Regions from separate parts of the Homo sapiens genome. Here regions 2, 3 and 4 are each linked to region 1. The links are contacts of gene promoters, found by promoter capture Hi-C in blood cells and fetal thymus (Javierre and others, 2016). All regions are on one chromosome and are shown on one strand. The core of a region is centred on a gene start or on the middle of the fragment in contact, and the rest is flanking DNA. Distances in the headings are between cores, read along the strand shown.

What was found. The method cuts DNA at HindIII sites, captures the fragments that hold promoters and counts their contacts. A CHiCAGO score of 5 or more calls a contact.
Region 2: a fragment that was not itself captured here is called in contact with the fragment with the promoter of OR9A2 in region 1 in 1 of 17 cell types (total B cells); the score reaches 5.1 in total B cells.
Region 3: a contact is called between the fragment with the promoter of PIP here and the fragment with the promoter of OR9A2 in region 1, in 15 of 17 cell types (total B cells, M2 macrophages, naive B cells and 12 more). The highest score is 18.0, in total B cells.
Region 4: a contact is called between a fragment that was not itself captured here and the fragment with the promoter of OR9A2 in region 1, in 2 of 17 cell types (naive B cells and total B cells). The highest score is 5.2, in naive B cells.

What each region holds. Positions count from the first base shown.
Region 1 is chr7:143,025,158-143,029,525 of GRCh38, forward strand. OR9A2 (olfactory receptor family 9 subfamily A member 2) reads right to left here and starts at 1,975. Exons shown (of 1, transcript NM_001001658.1): 1 at 1,043-1,975. The coding sequence starts at 1,975. The coding sequence ends at 1,043. LOC105375544 (a long non-coding RNA gene) reads right to left here. Exons shown (of 2, transcript XR_001745395.1): 2 at 4,103-4,368. The HindIII fragment of the contact is 3,416 bases long and covers 357-3,772 here.
Region 2 is chr7:143,145,647-143,150,014 of GRCh38, forward strand. No RefSeq gene overlaps it. Among named protein-coding and RNA genes, the nearest start is that of PIP, 16 kb to the left of the region's middle. The HindIII fragment of the contact is 3,696 bases long and covers 1,071-4,368 here.
Region 3 is chr7:143,129,528-143,133,895 of GRCh38, forward strand. PIP (prolactin induced protein) reads left to right here and starts at 2,550. Exons shown (of 4, transcript NM_002652.3): 1 at 2,550-2,684. The coding sequence starts at 2,590. The HindIII fragment of the contact is 4,172 bases long and covers 334-4,368 here.
Region 4 is chr7:143,105,743-143,110,110 of GRCh38, forward strand. No RefSeq gene overlaps it. Among named protein-coding and RNA genes, the nearest start is that of PIP, 24 kb to the right of the region's middle. The HindIII fragment of the contact is 8,838 bases long and covers 1-4,368 here.

The sequences.
Region 1 (4,368 bases), core at 725-3,224:
TTCTTCCTTATAAGGACTTCTTCCAATATTATGTGAAATTCCAACAGTTACACTACCAAACAGCCAATCCCTATAATTTCTAGAAAGCCGGGAGTCAAAAGAATGGCCTCTTATTTTTAAAAAATTCTGCCCACAGAGAAGATACACATGATGGTACTGAGACTGTTGGATTTGAGAGACGGAGAATCAAAAGACATTATAAAGTTTGAAGTCTAGATCTGGATACAGTCTGAACAGACATAGTTGTGTTTAACAGCCATAAAATACAGGATGCTCTCTAGAATTAGTCATTTAGTTCTTATTTGCCCCTGTCCCTATACTCACCACAAAGAAGGGCAGTGAAAGGAATATGCTGAAGCTTAACAAAAATAAATTTTCCTCCATTTTTATCCTCAAATATTTTTATCTTCTTTACACCACAAATATCTCCTGAATGAGAAGCATTCCAATCCTCATATCGCCATTCTAGACTGGTTCTGTGACAAAACGTAAACAGTGTTACACTTCCTTTCCAGTATCAATGGGGCAGAGAGAAAGAGCTTTAGGATATCTAAAATGCATATGGCCATCTTGCCAAAAAATTGCACAAAAATATAGGGAAGAACTTAGCAACAGGTGATGAAGGACCAAAGTGAGCATCTCTACCTTTCTACTCTGATTAGGACACCTTTCTCAGTACACCTCCCTCCACACTTCCTCCCTTCCCCAGAAAATACATTTTCAGAGATGGACTATGAGGAAATGAGTTGGGCTAATAGAATTCTTACAAAAATGTCTGCATTTCCTTTCTCTAGTCCCCCCCAAATCACAAGAATATGTTCAACAGTGGAAACAGGCAGGAACTAAGGCTATGAGAGTCTCCTGGACAGACAATGGATTTCATTATTACCAGCCTAATCTACTTCCATGGTGTGATGGCGAATTGTACACACTCTTTGACTTTTGTAATGAGAGGATAAGAGAAAAGAGGAGTTAGAATTTTCTAGGTGACTTAATAATTAACCCTGAGGCTTGGACCACCTAAAACTGACTTACAGAACAGCTAATCTTTCAGGAGTTGACAGCAGCGTTTCATCCCATCTCGGAGGGCCTCTTTGACTTTGTCATTCCGAAGAGTAAAGATGAAAGGATTCAGGAAGGGGGTTAACACAGAAACCAACAGGGAAACTATCTTATTGTACTCAACTCCCTGTGTTTGCTTGGGTTTCACGTAGAGAAACAAGCAGCTGCCATAGCCAATCACAACACAGGTGAAGTGGGAGGCAAAAGTGGAGAAGGCTTTCCTCCGGCCAGAGGCTGACGGGATCTTGAGGATGGTGGAGATAATGTAGGTGTAGGAGACAATCGTAGGGATCAAAGAACCAATGAGAATAAAAACAGCCATTAAGAAAAGGATAAACTCTGTGAGAAGAGTGTTATCGCAGGACAGTTTGAGCAATTGCCCTCGGTCACAGTAAAAATGGTCTAATGAATTTGATTTGCGGAAGGTAAACTGAAATGTGGCATAGATGGGCCAGATTTCAGAAAGAAATCCAAACACCCATGACACTATTACCACCCAAATACAGGTACTGCTGTTCATAATGATGTTGTACCTCAAAGGGTTACACACAGCCACATAACGGTCCACAGCCATCACTCCAAGTAATGCAAACTCCATGGTCCCACAGGAAAAGTTGAGCGATACATGTAGAGAAAGATACTGTCTGCATCCCAGGAAGAGCAATCCCCAAAGCATCATGGGGACAATTATGGTTGTGACCAGGATCTCCAGGGTAGAGAGGTGGCTGAGGAAGAAATACATGGGGGACTGCAGACGTTTATCCACACAGACAATCACAATGATGACCGTGTTTCCCATTAATGTCACTAAATAGAAGAAAAAGAATATAGCAAAAAGAATGTGGTGTAGTCCTTGGGACCCAGGGAAGCCTAGAAGGTGGAATTCAGTGGCACTAGAGTGGTTGTCCATCATTTAGTCCTTGATTCTGCTTGTTTTGAAGCCCAGAGATTAAAAGAGAGGTGGCATTGCTCCACATGGTCCTGCTCTCAAGAGAGAAGGAAGAAAAATTAGGTTAAGAAACTATTTCCAACCTGAGAATCAGGTGACATGTCCCTGCTACTGTGGTCGGCACATACATAGCTTGAGGTACATGTTGTCATCCCAAGTCTACAAGTGAGGCTCTCACTTCCCTGTGTAACCAGCCCCCTAGAATGGGTGAAGACATCTTCTTCTACTGGTGGTGAAATACCTTCCTTGCCTTTTTCCCCATTAAATATACCTTCTCTCGGGGGCAGAGGCTAAGACCTTTTAAATAGGCCAGTTTTAAAGGTGAGTCAATCAGGTCCCTCCGGTCCTGGAGTTACTTTCTCTTAGGTTAACTGTGCAAGATGACACAAAGGCATTTTATATGATGTTCAAAGGACAGAATTTTAAACCCCAGCTCTCATCTGTAATGGTAATGCATAGACCCACCTTTGGGGCCAGCAGAAAGGAGGCAGAGGATGTAAGACTAACATCTCTGCTGTTCCAGATTTTAAAATCTCCATTTTACAGAACAGCAAGATCTCTAAATGAGAACTCTAGAGCTTGGGATAATTTCCCAGAACAGATCCATTCTTCTCTAATTCCATTTTCCTTCCAAAGTTGTGGGAGGAAGGAAAGATGGCACCTGGCACAGAAAAGGAATAGATCTGGGACCGCCAGCTGTTAAGGATGCCTGGCTCTCTGCCTGTCGCTTCATTCCATTATTCAAATGTCACCCTTTCCAAAGACTCTTTCCAATCACTCTGCCCAAAACAGAAAAGACACACTTATTATTGGACTTCCATTTTTTTAATAACAGTTGTTATTACCTTGTATTATGTCTAATTATTTACTTCATTCCTTTATTTAACAATAAACAAATGTAGTCATGAACAGAACAAAGAAAATTCCATGCCCTGTGGAGCTTATATTCAAGGAAGAGGTGGGGGCTAGACCACACACAAGACACCTAAGTAAAATATGCAATAGTTTAGTTTGCTTATCATGTCACAGGGAAAAAAATAAGCAAGAAAGAAGGAGAGGAAATTTAAGTGTATTTATTATTTATCAACGGCATTAGAATATAAACTCCATGAGGGCTAGGACATGTCTTCACTGTTGTATTCTGAGGCTGGCACATAAAATGTACATACATAAATTAAGTAGTTATATATTTTATATATATATATCATATATCTTTTATATAGATATAGACAGATACATTATGTGAAATGAATATATCATAGATATATCTTATATATTAAATTATGTATTAATTTATCACAAGGTAACCGAACTAATAGCTGTGTGAGTCAAGATTTGAACCTAGGTCTGTCAGATTTCATCACTCACACAGCTAACTACCACACCTTATATTATATTATTATCTTATATTATTTATCTTATTTATATAAGATATATGAAATAAGATATATGAAATATATCTTATATTATATAAAATATACATATATTTTTTATTTATAAGATATTTAAATACATAAGATATATGTATCATATACATAAAATAAGTAGTGCTGACAAATTTTGCTAGATGAGGTATGGATGGATGGATGGATAATATATGATTAAATAATACTTGTTCTGGCCAGGGCCTGGGCCACATTCCCTCAATCCTATTCTGGTTGGTTTTCCTTCCTGCCTCACATTACCATTTTCCCTCCTGCCCTTCCCTTGCTTAGGTAACCCCTTCCCTGTCTACGTCACTGTTTTACTAATGGTTTAAAAAGCTTCAGGGACAGAATTGATGGGAAAGCTCAGTGTTCTGGTTTTCCACAACCTCTGCATAACCAGCACGAGATGAAGAAACATGAGCGAGAAGGACACCGACTGTCAGGGAGCCGTGACTGTGTTAGCATTGGGTCCAAGAGGAGCCGGAAGTGCTCTCTGCTATGCAGGAAGGGTCTGGAGATGAGCCTATACACTCTACTGCTCCCCTAGCCCACACTTCAATATCTGGGTGACTTTGTTCTAGAAGATAGGCAGGCCCAGGATGTCCCATCCTAAAATGCTTTTACCCTCTTCTTCATAGAGGAGACCCCTTGGAAAGACACTCACCTTTACAGAGGGGCTTCGCCGCCTCTTCTGATGTTCTCTAGGGCTCCGCTGAGGCTACCTCCTGTCCTGCTAGTGCTGAGCCATGCACAGGGGCCAGAACAAGTTGCTGCAATCCCCACTCATGGCGAAGAAGGGAAATGTCCTCCCAGAGGAGCTTAGGAAAAAGCCCAGAAATGAGTGTTGGGCAAAGTTGAGGGTCCTCTCTCTCTCCCCTCTCCTCCCTCTTCCCTTCTTCCCAAGGGTACTTAATCACCGAGTTACTACTT
Region 2 (4,368 bases), core at 1,669-4,168, 120 kb after region 1:
CAATTGTAAACGTTTAGAAAGAGTCAGTGTCTACCAATAAAAAAAACTGCTTAAATTAATTCTGGTTCATATACACAACCGAATAAATACACATGGCTTTAAAAAGATTGAAGGCACTCTGATGTACTAAATTGAAATTTCTTCAATCACAGTGTCAAATGAAACTAGTGAGTCATAGAACATTATATGATAAATTTTGTGATGGAAATTAAAGAACATAATAGTATTTATTGTATAACTGTACACTGATGTAAAGAAATACTAGGTCAGGCGTGGTGGCTCACGCCTGTAATCCCAGCACTTTGGGAGGCTGGGGCGAGTGGATCACCAGGTCCAGAGTTTGAGACCAGCCTGGCCAAGATGGTGAAACCCCGTCTCTACTAAAAAAACAAATATTAGCCAGGCATGGTGGCAGGCACAGCAGTGCACTCTAGCCCAGGTGACAGAGCATGACTTTGTCTCAAAAATAATAATAATAATATTTTTGAATAAGTAATAAATGAATGGAAGGAAGGGAGGGAGGAAAGGAGAAGAGAAATTAGTTTAATGAGTTTGAAAAACATAGGGATAAATAGCAGAGTAATCCAAGTAAGAGAAGACCTGCTGCATAGCACCTGGTATTTGGGAGCTGGCCCTCTCAATGCATGGTGAATCTTGTAGAAAATTCAAAATGAATGGATGGAAGCAGCCCTCCCTGGTCTTGCTGTCACCTTAAGGCATCTCAAGGACCTTGTTAGTTTCAGCACTCTAGTTCTCTGGAAAGACTCTACAGGGGTAAGAGCACAGCTGTCCCAACTCATCCACCCTTGGACTTCACCTCGCCATCTGATATGGTTCTCCCACTTGGATGTTAGGTGGGCAATTCCATGGGTTCTCTAGTCGTCTTAGCTTTCTAAGACGTTCTTAAGACCACATGTTCTCCTGCAGATGACTAGAGATGATCACAGGGTCCTTCAAAGATGGATTCTGACAACTGCCCCAACATCTGAATTTCCAGCAAGAGGAAGCAGGCTGAGCAGTAACCAAAGCTAGAAAAATGGAGACCTGGGACAACAGGACCTTTCCTAAGAAGCTTCAGGATTGCAGCTCCCACACATATAATTTAAACCCAAGCCCCCTTAGAGGGGCCAATACACAGAAAGGTCTTGCTTACTGACAGTATCTTAAGAAATAGATACCAAAAATATCTGGTCTACCCTCTTCTCATCTGATTTTTTCCTATTTCTGAGGCTTGAATTCTCATGAAACATACTCTATACTCTATAGAGGGCTATCATTTCTTACAGAAGACTCATTGTACCTGAAGATGCAAACCAGGAGGGCTGAGTAGGAACATTAGTGTCAAGTCATTCACTCAACTAGAGTAAAATTTAGAGTTGAAGTAACTGGCATTGGTAGAAAGATAAGACACCATGTCATCTAGAGGACAAAAAGATAAGAATATACATTTCATAGATCCTACAGACCCAGAGCAAGTATTGGGAAATAGAAGTGAAAAAGATGCTGTTTAGAAAAGTTAAGGCAGAATCCATCCTGCTGTTCCAGGAACATTCTAATCTGATATTGGCAAACAAGGGAAAACAACTGAACTAATTCTTTCCTCATTCCATTCCAATGTAAAATTCCAGCTGAATGTTGACATTTCTCCAAGAAAAAAATTCATGGTGGTAATTAGGGAAGTTTCAAGGTCTGATGATTTTGGTTGAGTGGCCTGCCCAAATGTCACAATGTTCTCTTGCTGTAGTTATGAAGAATAATTTGGGTGCCTGGGTGCACAGTTCTCTGGGCATCAAATTTCTCCAGCATGCATGCTCTTCAGATTCTGTTCAAGCCCTGTCTTGTTGCCCTGCTCCTGGTTCTCTGCCTGAGGCTGGGGACCAGCATAGCTCAGGAAGAATTGTAAGCCACCACTTTCTCCTTGTTGCAGAAAATCTTCCAACGGGGACACATCTCCCAACCCAGAAATCAATATGGTGCCCCTAGGGATTATTTTACCACTCCAAAGGGGACACATTCTGGGTATTCTCACTAAAGATGTCTCTTAGTCTCACTCTTTTCCTATTCAGATCCTATTGTGGGGGTTACTGCATTCATGTCTTATTACTACTTGTATTTTAATTCATTTTTCTATCCTAAGTTTATCATTGGCATCATTTTCTCCTAAATGAAAAGCATGGGCAGAGATGTGGGCTTAATCAATACCTGTGGGATGAGCTTTGGATAAGATGCCTGAGCTGCAAGAGAGGGGCCATGGCCCTGGTCTTTACTGGGGTTACAAGGTTGTGCTGACCACTAACTCATACAATTGGTCTCATTGGAAACAGTGCTCTCTATCTCATTAAGATCTGTGTCATACACTGGGGCTGGGACCTACAAGACCTGAGCAGGTTTCTCTAAGTAAGGAAAAAGTAGAAACATGCTCCTGGACTCCACCTTTTCCTGGATTTGTTCCTAAATGCAACATGTCCTTGCATAAATGCGACACAGCTGGTCTCCAGGTCTATACTGATTTGCCAAAACGGAGGAAAAGAAATGACAGATTCCAGTTCCTTAAGTGGAAAGGAGAACATTGAAACGGGACTCTGTCCCTTGGCAAGAGCAAAGTACTAAGATCCAGAATGAAGCCAGCAGGTCCTTAGGAGACATGGACGTGTAGCAGACAGAATGTGGAGAAAGGAGTATCTAGCAGATGGAAATGGAGCCATGGAGATTTTGGTGAAGAAGGGGTTCTTGCCAAGCCTGGATGTTTCTCTAAGGAGAAGAGAAGCAAAGAGGATGTGGGGGTGGATATATGGAGTAACACAAAATGTGTGTGTGCTGGGTTTTGGTTGACTAAACTTCTACTTAGTTTCCCCTCTACTTAGTGAGTTGGACAAAGTTGAACTATGTTGATCATTATGTTAAACTTTAATTCATTGGTGTGATATGTTTATCAGACTCATAGAATTTCTTATCCTTCTACTAGTTATACCAGTATAAGAAAATGAACTTTCATGGATTTGGGGATGATTCCATAAGAAAAATCAAAAGGAGAATCTCAGGCTAAAGTAGACCATGCAACCAAATCACTTCCTGCTTCAAACAACATGGTGGAGATTCAACTGAGTATCCATGATGAAGGAAAAGCAGTCCCTCAGTCTGGCTCCCTGCCCTCATCAGTCCACCAGGAATATGACCTCTTTTCCTCTGGCCTCCATTTCCCCTTCCTATCAGATAGGGGCATCTTGGCTGGACACACAGAGCCCACAGGCACAAGTCATGCACAGAGGATCCTTATGAGTGACAGCATTGACTTATGTGCTTCCTCACTCCCTGCACCCCTCTGTTCACTCTGTCCTCCTGCTTCCATTCTCCCTCCTGGGACACCCCTGTCCTACACTTTCCCTGACTTTGGGTTTCTCCTTCTTTTGGCATATACAGACAGAACATAATTTTTCTGAGCATGACAATCCCTGAATCTGTAAAGCCAGAGGAAATATTTTTGCTAACACTCATGGTTACAAATAACAATAGGTATAAATATGTGGAGGTAACTGAAGAATTGGAGGGAAGGTTGGTGGGAAAGAGAAGAGAAATATCACAATAAAGAACATTGGTCGTCATTACTGATTGTATGTGAAACAGTTTAACATCTTGCCAAATGCTTCACCTACACATGATTTTGTGTACATTAGCCTTGAACCTCAGAACAACTCTGTTAGGAATGTACATGTTATCAATTCCATTTTGAAGTTGAAGAAATTGTGTTATGAAAAAGATGAATGAGTGGAGGCTTTTAACCATAGGGTCAGGACTCTAATTCATGAGGGGAGGGTAGCAGTGGGGAGATTAGGAAGAGGAAAAAAAAGAAATGAGAGGAAAGCAATCCAAATGCAGATGAAAAGAAAGATGGACAGAGAAACACAAATCAAAACCACAATGAGATACCATCTTACACCAGTAAGAATGGCTACTACTAAAAAGTCAAAAAATAACAGAAGCTAGTGAAGCTGCAGAGAAAAGGGAATGTTTACACACTTTTCATGGGAATGTAAATTGGTTCAGCCACTTTGAAAAGCAGTTTGAAGATTTCTCAAAGAACTTAAAATTGAGCCACCATTCAACCCAGCAATCCCATTACTGGGTACATACCGAAAGGAAAATAGACCATTACACCAAATGGCCACTTGATATGTTCACCACCATGCTATTCACAATATTAAAGACATGGAATCAACTAAGCGCCCATTGATGGTGGATTGGATAAAGAAAATGTGGCACATAGACACCATGGAATACTATGCAGCCATAAAAAATAAAATCATTTTCTTTGCTGCAGTGTGGATGGAACTGGAGACCATAATTCTAAGCAAATTAATGAAAGAACAG
Region 3 (4,368 bases), core at 1,300-3,799, 100 kb after region 1:
AATGTTTAGAGCAGTGTAATGCACACAGCATATGCTTCATGTGTGTTGGTGTCTATAACTCCCTCTCTGTCCACTCCTTATCTTCTTCTCATGAGCCCTGTCAGGACTAAGATTATCTTTCTCTTTGTAAACTTAGCCTGTGGCAAGCCTCACCTATATTCTAACTCTTTCCCTATGGGACTATACACATTCTCTTCTGTAAGCTTCCTGAGTTGTTTACAATCTGATTTTATCAACCTTTATCTGATTTCTTAAACCTAGACTTGTTCATTCTTTATGGCATAATAATTATGGTTTCTTTTTCTCCCTAATCTTCTTCCTCAAGGGACCTCAAGCTTTTCTCTTAAGACTTTCAACTGATCCAATGAGTCTGACCCATATTATGGAGGTAATCTGTTTTACTCAAATTTTACTGATTTAAATGTTAATCACATTTAAAACAAACAAACAAACAACAACTTCACAGCAACTTCTAAACTGTTGTTTTTCCAAAAAGTGGGCACCATGCCTAGCTAAGCTAACAAATAAAAGTAACCATCACAGCAGTCATGGCCTGAATAAGACTTGTCCTAGGCCAGGCACAGTGGCTCACACCTGTAATCCCAGCAATTTGGGAGGCCGAGGCAGGTGGATCACTTGAGGTCAGGAATGTAAGATCAGCTTGGCCAACATGGTGAAACCCCATCTCTACCAAAAATACAAAAATTAGCCGGGTATGGTGGCACCTGCCTATAATCCCCACTACTCGGGTGGCTGAGGCATGAGAATTTCCTGAACCCGGGAGGTGGAGGCTGCAGTGAGCTGAGATCATGCCACTGCACTCCAGCCTGGATGAGTGAGATTCTGTCTCAAAAAAAAAAGATTGTCCTGTACATTGTAGGTATTGCAGTTTCCTGCTAGCTCACAGAAGAACAGCCTCATTACCTTCAATAGATGCTCTTAACCCATCGTCATCTGCCTTCCTCTGGACACTGCCTTTTGGGAGTGCTGGAGTTGCATCCTCAAGGACAGGGCTATGCCTTCAAAGAGCCAAGCAAAGAACTTTTCCTGCATTTTCCCACACAGACACTTCCTAGATTCTTCTGCCTTATGCCTGCCTTGGTCAGTGTAGCTAGGATGTGCTTCAAATGGAAATTATGCAAGTGAGAAGGACCAGGTGTAAAGACAATTTAATTGTGGGAAAAGGCTTACAAAGGAAGGTCATTGTGACCCTCACAAGCAGTGTTCTTGAGTGGATAGGACATAAACAGGGAAGAAAGCATGTGATCATGAGAACAGCTGAAGTTCTGAGTGAGCAATGACATGAATGGTGTCCAATTCAAAGAAAAGAGAAGGTAGATCCAGGAGCTGAATAAACAGACAGAGCAATTTTGAGAGATACATCCAGAAAGCAGAAGCACACACTTACACTTTAGCTCTGAATCCTGGCTAAAGCAACATACAGAGGCGGTAACTCCTAGAACTCTGATTTTCACTCTGTTGCCAGAGAGGCTCTTCCTGGGCAGCTGTGTGCCATGCAAATGATAGAAACAAATCCCATAGTATTGTAAGTCATAGGTTAAGGAGCAGATTTAATTTCATAAGGAGAAATAACACAATGCCAGTGTCAGCAAGAGCAAGTCTCCCCATCATCCCAAGGAGAGGAATTCTACAACCTGGGTATCTACTGGACATAATGTGGGCTCCATTCTCACAGAAGGAATCCTTTCCACTGTGGTTCTTCCTGTGTGGCTTACGCATGAGACAAGTGTAAGAAAGTGGCCATGTCAATAAGAAAATAAGCCAGCTCTTTGGTGCCAAGAAGTCTGATTTGGGGGTGCCAGCTATTTATAGGAATTGTCTAGAATTAAAATATCACCCTGCCTTGGGGATTGTGGGGCAGCTGGGGATCTTGGACATCTGCAGTATATTGCAACCACACCTGAAATTAAGAAGGACTCAATGACAATAAACATCTTTACATCACCCAGTGTCTTGAACTCACTTCCCCATCATGTAGAGCAGCTCAGGTCTTCTCTAGCTCTTCCACCTCATGATGGGTAGTGACTGCTAGGGAAGTCCTGATCATCCTAGCCCTCCAAGAAATGTTTTGAATAGCATTGCATCTTGAACTCACTATAATTTGATCAAGCAAAGATGTTCTATGTCTCTGGTCTGAAACCTGCCACCACAGCTGTGTTCTCTGCTTTCAGAGACCAGGGGAGCAGTGACTGAAGCTAAGACTACACATAGCACTTCAGACAGGCAAATTAGGAGGGAAAAGAAAACTGAATCTGTAAACTCGGGAAAAACTGGTGTATCTTTTGAGGTCCCAGCCATTTTGAGAAACTCTGATGCTGAAAAAATAAGGAAGAACAATCTGACTCCTCTCTCAAACGCTGACATTCTAGCTGAGTGTTGATTTTTTCTTAGAAAAACAAACTTTGGGTCAACAAGGAAAGATCACGAGTGGGGAGGGTGAATGGGTGATTCACCTCATGGATCTCCCTGGCAGCTCTTGCACTTCCTTGATCAATCTGTATATAAGAAATGTGCTGGGCACCTGGGACACCACTTCTCTGGGACACATTGCCTTCTGTTTTCTCCAGCATGCGCTTGCTCCAGCTCCTGTTCAGGGCCAGCCCTGCCACCCTGCTCCTGGTTCTCTGCCTGCAGTTGGGGGCCAACAAAGCTCAGGACAACACGTGAGCCATGCCCTTCTCCTCCCCACAAAAAAAATTGCAGGGAGGGCTCCTCTCCCAGTCTGGAAATTACATATCTCTTTCTGAGAATTTCTTTCAACTTCCCAGAACTCTAGTCCCAGGAGCTCCCATGGATCTCCTGCCAGGTTCCACTTCTTGTCCTCTTAGGAAGCCCCACCAACTCCTCTCACATTTTTGCTGGGTGTTTCTGCATTGCCAGTGGAAATAAAGCTCCAAATGTACCTACAGGCTGTAATTAGTAGTTAGTCTTCATCTAACATGCTGATCCACATCTTGTTCATAATTTATACCTTTGTTCAGATTTCTGCTCAGTAAACTTTACCTTCTCACACCTTGCCTCCTAGAAGAGAAGCATAACAGGTCTGTGAATTCCAATGGCAGCTTAGGGCAGCTTTGGCAGGACTGGCTAAAGGACCAGAGGCCCTGGCCACTGCCCTGTGGTCTGAGATTGAGCTAGACTGGCAGCTTAGACATTCTTCCTAACCTGAAGTCTGAAGATGAATATGATGACCTCTTGCTCTCACGTATACTGGGACCTGAGAGCACAGGTTCAGAAGTCAACTTATTGAGAACACATGTGTGAAGGAAGCAGAAAAATTGGAGCAAGTAAAATAAAGTAGAAAATGGAGCCAAGGGTCTGGGAGAAAGCAGCGATACCCAATCTAGGGAGTTTTCTCTATAGCAGTAGGGTTTATAATGCTGGGTTTCTGGGTTGTGATCTTGGAGGTACTCTCTATGGCATGGTCAGATATCCTGTCCTGGAGGAAACTGTTCAGGGTTTTGACAAGCTAATGTAATGGAGGCAAGTGTCCCAAGAAACCCTGCATGGGGACAGGTTCAGATCCCACCCCATTCCCGCCAGATGACAGTCCACTTAGCCCTGAAGGGCAGCAAGGTATTCAAATAAGCTATGCTAATTAGGTTATCAACCATCCATCCTGATTTGCCCAGAACTTTCCTGGTTGTAGCACTGCAACTCTGCCCTCCCCCGCCACCTCCACAACCCATTCTGGAAAAGACCTCAGTCCTGGGTAAACTGAGATGGTTAGTCACTCGAACTAAGCTGGTCATCCTATCAATCTGAAACTCATATACAAATGGGAGAGATTTTGAAGTTGCTTAGGTATTTATACCCTTTTCCTGTGCACTGGGCACTACAGCAGTTGGCACCAAAAAATAGAATCTCTCTAAGATGCTTTGCCCCAAGAAAATGGGGCTGTGAGACACTGTGGGCTAAGAATCTCAATTCCCTTCTGTCCCACACAATAACAAAGGTCCGTAGCCGGGAGTTTCTAGGGACGAGAAAATAACTCTCCTGGCCCCGAACCCAGTCCTCATTGACTGAAGAAGAACATTTGACCATTTTATTTGTCTCCATTTCCTTTCCTTTTCAGATTGCAGTGTATGGTCTAAATGTAGAGTAGTATCTAAAGTTCCCAAACATGGCCATATGTCCAAATTTCCTAAGGAGCTAAATAAATACAAATTCCTAAACCCTACCTGGGGACCACAGAAGGAGGATCTTCAAAGATGCTCCTACAAATACCTCCAGTGCATTGAGATGTTTGCTGGGTTTTTAAAATTTTTTATTATTTTATTTTATTTTTCCATAAGTTACTGGGGTACAAGTGGTATTTGGTTACATGAGTAAGTTCTTTAGTGGTGA
Region 4 (4,368 bases), core at 1,319-3,818, 81 kb after region 1:
CTTTTTCCTCTTTAGTAGAGACAAGGAGACACATATTATCTGTGGACCCAAAACTCCGGTGCCGGTCACAGACTTGGGAAGACAGTCTTCCCTTGGTGTTTAATCACTTTGGGGACACCTGCCTGATTATTTACCCACACTCCATTGGTGTTTGATCACTGTGGGGACACCTGCCTTGGTCATTCACCCACATTCCCTTGGTGGCAAGTCAATTGTGGGGACATCTGCTTTGGCTGCTCACCCATATTGCAGCCCAGGGCTGCTCACCACCCCCTTCTCCATCTCTCTACCTTTCTCTTTAAACTTACCTCCTTCACTATGGGCAAACTTCTGCCCTCCATTCCCCCTTCTTCTCCCTTAGCCTGTGTTCTCAAGAACTTAAAGCCTCTTCAACTCACACCTGACCTAAAACCTAAATGCCTTATTTTCTTCTGCAATACCACTTGACCCCAATAAGAACTCAATAATGGTTCTAAATAGCCAGAAAATGGCACTTTTGATTTCTCCATTTTACAATATCTAGATAATTTTTGTTGAAAAATGGGCAAATGGTCTGAGGTGCCTGGCGTACAGGCAGCCAGGCATTCTTTTACACATTGGTCCCTCCCTAGTCTCTGTTCCCAATGCGACTCGTCCCAAATCTTTCTTCTTTCTCTCCTGTCTGTTCCTTCAGTCTCCACCCCAAGCTCTGAGTCCTGTGAATCCTCCTTTTCTACAGACCCATCTGACCTTTCCCCTCCTCCCCAGGCTGCTCCTTGCCAGGCCAAGCCAGGTCCCAACTCTTTTTCAGCCTCCGCTCCCTCACCCTATAACCCTTCTATTACCTCCCCTCCTCACACCCAGTCTGGCTTACAGCTTCATTCCATGACTAGCCCTCCCCGACCTGCCCAACAATTTCCTCTTAGAGAGTGGCTGAAGCTGAAGGCATAGCCAAGGTTAATGCTCCTTTTTCTTTATCCGACCTCTCCCAAATCAGTTAGCATTTAGGCTCTTTTTCATCAAATATGAAAACCCAGCCCAGTCCATGGCCCATTTGGCAACAAGCCTTAGACACTTTACCACCCTAGACACAGAGGGGCCTGAAGTCTGTCTTATTCTCAATATGCATTTTACTACCCAACCCACTCCCGACATTAGAAAAAGCTCCAAAAATTAGATTCTGGCCCTCAACCCCACAACAGCACTTAATTGATCTCACCTTCAAGGGGTACAATAATAGAGAAGAGTTGCAATTACTTGCCTCCACTGTGAGAGAAACCCAGCCACATCTCCAGCACACAAGAACTTCAAAATGCCTAAACCGCAGGGGCAAGGCATTCCTCCAGGACCACCTCCCCCAGGATCTTGCTTCAAGTGCCGGAAATCTGGCCACTGGGCCAAGGAATGCCTGCAGCCCAGGACTCCTCCTAAGCTGTGTCCCATCTGTGCAGGACCCCACTGGAAATCAGACTGTCCAACTCACCCAGCAGCCATTCCCAGAGCCCCTAGAACTCTGGCCCAAGGATCTCTGATTGACTCCTTCCCAGATCTCGGCTTAGTGGCTGAAGACTGATGCTGCCCAATCACCTTGGAAGCCTACAGGACCATCACAGATGCTTTGGGTAACTCTTACAGTGGAGGGTAAGTCTGTCCCCTTCTTAATCAATATGGAGGCTACCCACTCCACATTACCTTCTTTTCAAGGGCATGTTTCCCTTGCCTCCATAACTGTTGTGAGTATTGACAAGAGGCTTTAAACCTTTTAAAACTCCCCAACTCTGGTGCCAACTTGGACAATGTTCTTTTATACAATCCTTTTTAGTTATCCCTACCTGCCCAGCTCCCTTATTAGGTCGAAACATTTTAACTAAATTATCTGCTTCCCTGACTATTCCTAGGCTACAGCCACACCTCATTGCCACCTTTTTCCTCAGTTCAAAGCCTCCTTCACATCCTCCCCTTGTATCTCCCCACCTTAATCCACAAGTATAGGACACCTCTACTCCCTCCTTCGTGACTGATCATGCACACCTTACCATCCCATTAAAACGTAATCACCCTTACCCTGCTCAATGCCAATATCCCATCCCACAGCACACTTTAAAAAGATTAAAGCCTGTTATCACTCTCCTGCTACAGCATGGGCTTCTAAAGCCTATAAACTCTCCTTACAATTCCCCCATTTTACCTATCCAAAAACCAGACAAGTCTTACAGGTTAGTTCAGGATCTGCGCCTTATCAACCAAACTGTCTTGCCTATCCACCCTGTGGTGCCAAATACATATACTCTCCTATCCTCAATACCTCCCTCTACAACCCATTATTCTGTTCTAGATAAACCTAGCTGACCCCATAAATCCTAAATCCTTTCCCCACTCCCCTTTCCATTCCTTAAAAAACAGCCCTAAAAGCTGCTCCCACACTAGCTCTCCTTAATTCATCCCAACCCTTTTCATTACACACAGCCAAAGTACAGGGCTGCGCAGTCAGAATTCTTACACAAGAGCTGGGACTGTGCCCTGTAGCCTTTCTGTCCAAACAACTTGACTTTACTGTTTTAGCCTAGCCCTCATGTCTGCGTGAAGTGGCTGCCGCTGCTTTAATACTTTTAAAGCCCCTCAAAATCACAAGCTATACTCCACTTACTCTCTACAGTTCCCATAACTTTCAAAATCTATTTTCCTCCTCACACTTGACACATATACTTTCTGCCCCCCAGCTCCTTCAGCTATACTCACTCTTGTTGAGTCTCCTACAATTACCATTGTTCCTGGCCCAGAGTTCAATCTGGCCTCCCACATTATCCCAGATGCCACACCTGATCCCCATGACTGTATCTCTCTGATCCACCTGACATTCACTCCATTTCCCCATATTTCCTTCTTTCCTGTTCCTCACACTGATCACACTTGGTTTATTGATGGCAATTCCACCAGGCCTAATCGCCACTCACCAGCAAAGGCAGGGTGTGCTATAGTGTCTTCCACATCTATCACTGAGGTTACTGCTCTGCCCCTCTCCACTACCTCTCAGCAAGTTGAACTCATTGCCTTAACTCAGGCCTTCACTCTTGCAAAGGGACTACGCATCAATGTTTATACTGACTCTAAATATGCCTTCCATATCCTGCACCACCATGCTGTTATATGGGCAGAAGGAAATTTCCTCACTACACAAGTGTCCTCCATCATTAATGCCTCCTTAATAAAAACTCTTCTTAAAGCTGCTTTACTTCCAAGGAAGCTGGAGTCATTCACTGCAAGGGCCATCAAAAAGGCATCAGATCCCATCACTCAGGGCAATGCTTATGCTGATAAGGTAGCTAAAGAAGCAGCTAGTGTTCCAACTTCTGTCCCTCATAGCCAGTTTTTCTCCATCTCATTGGTCATGCCTATTTACTCTCTTACTGAAGTTTCCACCTATCAATCCCTCTCCACTCAAGGCAGATGGTTCTTAGACCAAAAAAAAATCTCCTTCCAGCCTCACAGGCCCATTCTATTCTGTCGTCATTTCATAACCTCTTCCATGTAGGTTACAAGCTGTTAGCCCACCTCTTAAAACCTCTCGTTTCCTTTCCATCATGAAAATTTATCCCCAACCCGCCACTCTTGACTGCCTCTTGGAGTGCACAGACAATCTTTGCTGACAGGACACACTCCAATACTTTCACCCTGATGAAGTCCTATTCTTTACTTTTATACTCACTCTTATTCTCGTTCCTGTTCTTATGCCACCCTCTACCTCTCCCCAGCTATCTCCACCACACTATCAATCTCACTCACTCTCTCCTACCCGTTTCTAATCCTTCTTTAACAAACAATTGCTGGCTTTGCATTTCTCTTTCCTCAAAACTCGCCAAGGCCCTGACTTACTCACTGCTAAAAAAAAAGGGGGACTCTGTATATTTTTAAATGAAGAGTGTTGTTTTTACCTAAATCAGTCTGGCCTGGTAAACAGTATCAAAAAACTCAAGGATAGAGCCCAAAAACTTGCCAACCAAGCAAATAATTAACACTGAACCCCTCTGGACACTCTCTAATTGGATGTCCTGGGTACTCCCAATTCTTAATCCTTTAATACCTACTTTTCTCCTTCTTTTATTCGTGCCTTGTGTCTTCTGTTTAGTTTCTCAATTCATACAAAACTGCATCCAGGCCATCACCAATAATTCTATAGGACAAACGCTCCTTCTAACAACCCCACAATATCACCCCTTACCCCAAAGCCTTTCTTCAGTTTAATCTCTCCTACTGTAGGTTCCCATGCCACCCCTAATCCCGCTGGAAGCAGCCCTGAGAAACATCACCCATTATCTCTCCATACTACCCCCCAAAATTTTCACCACCCCAACACTTCACCACTATTTTGTTTTGTTTTGTTTTTTATTA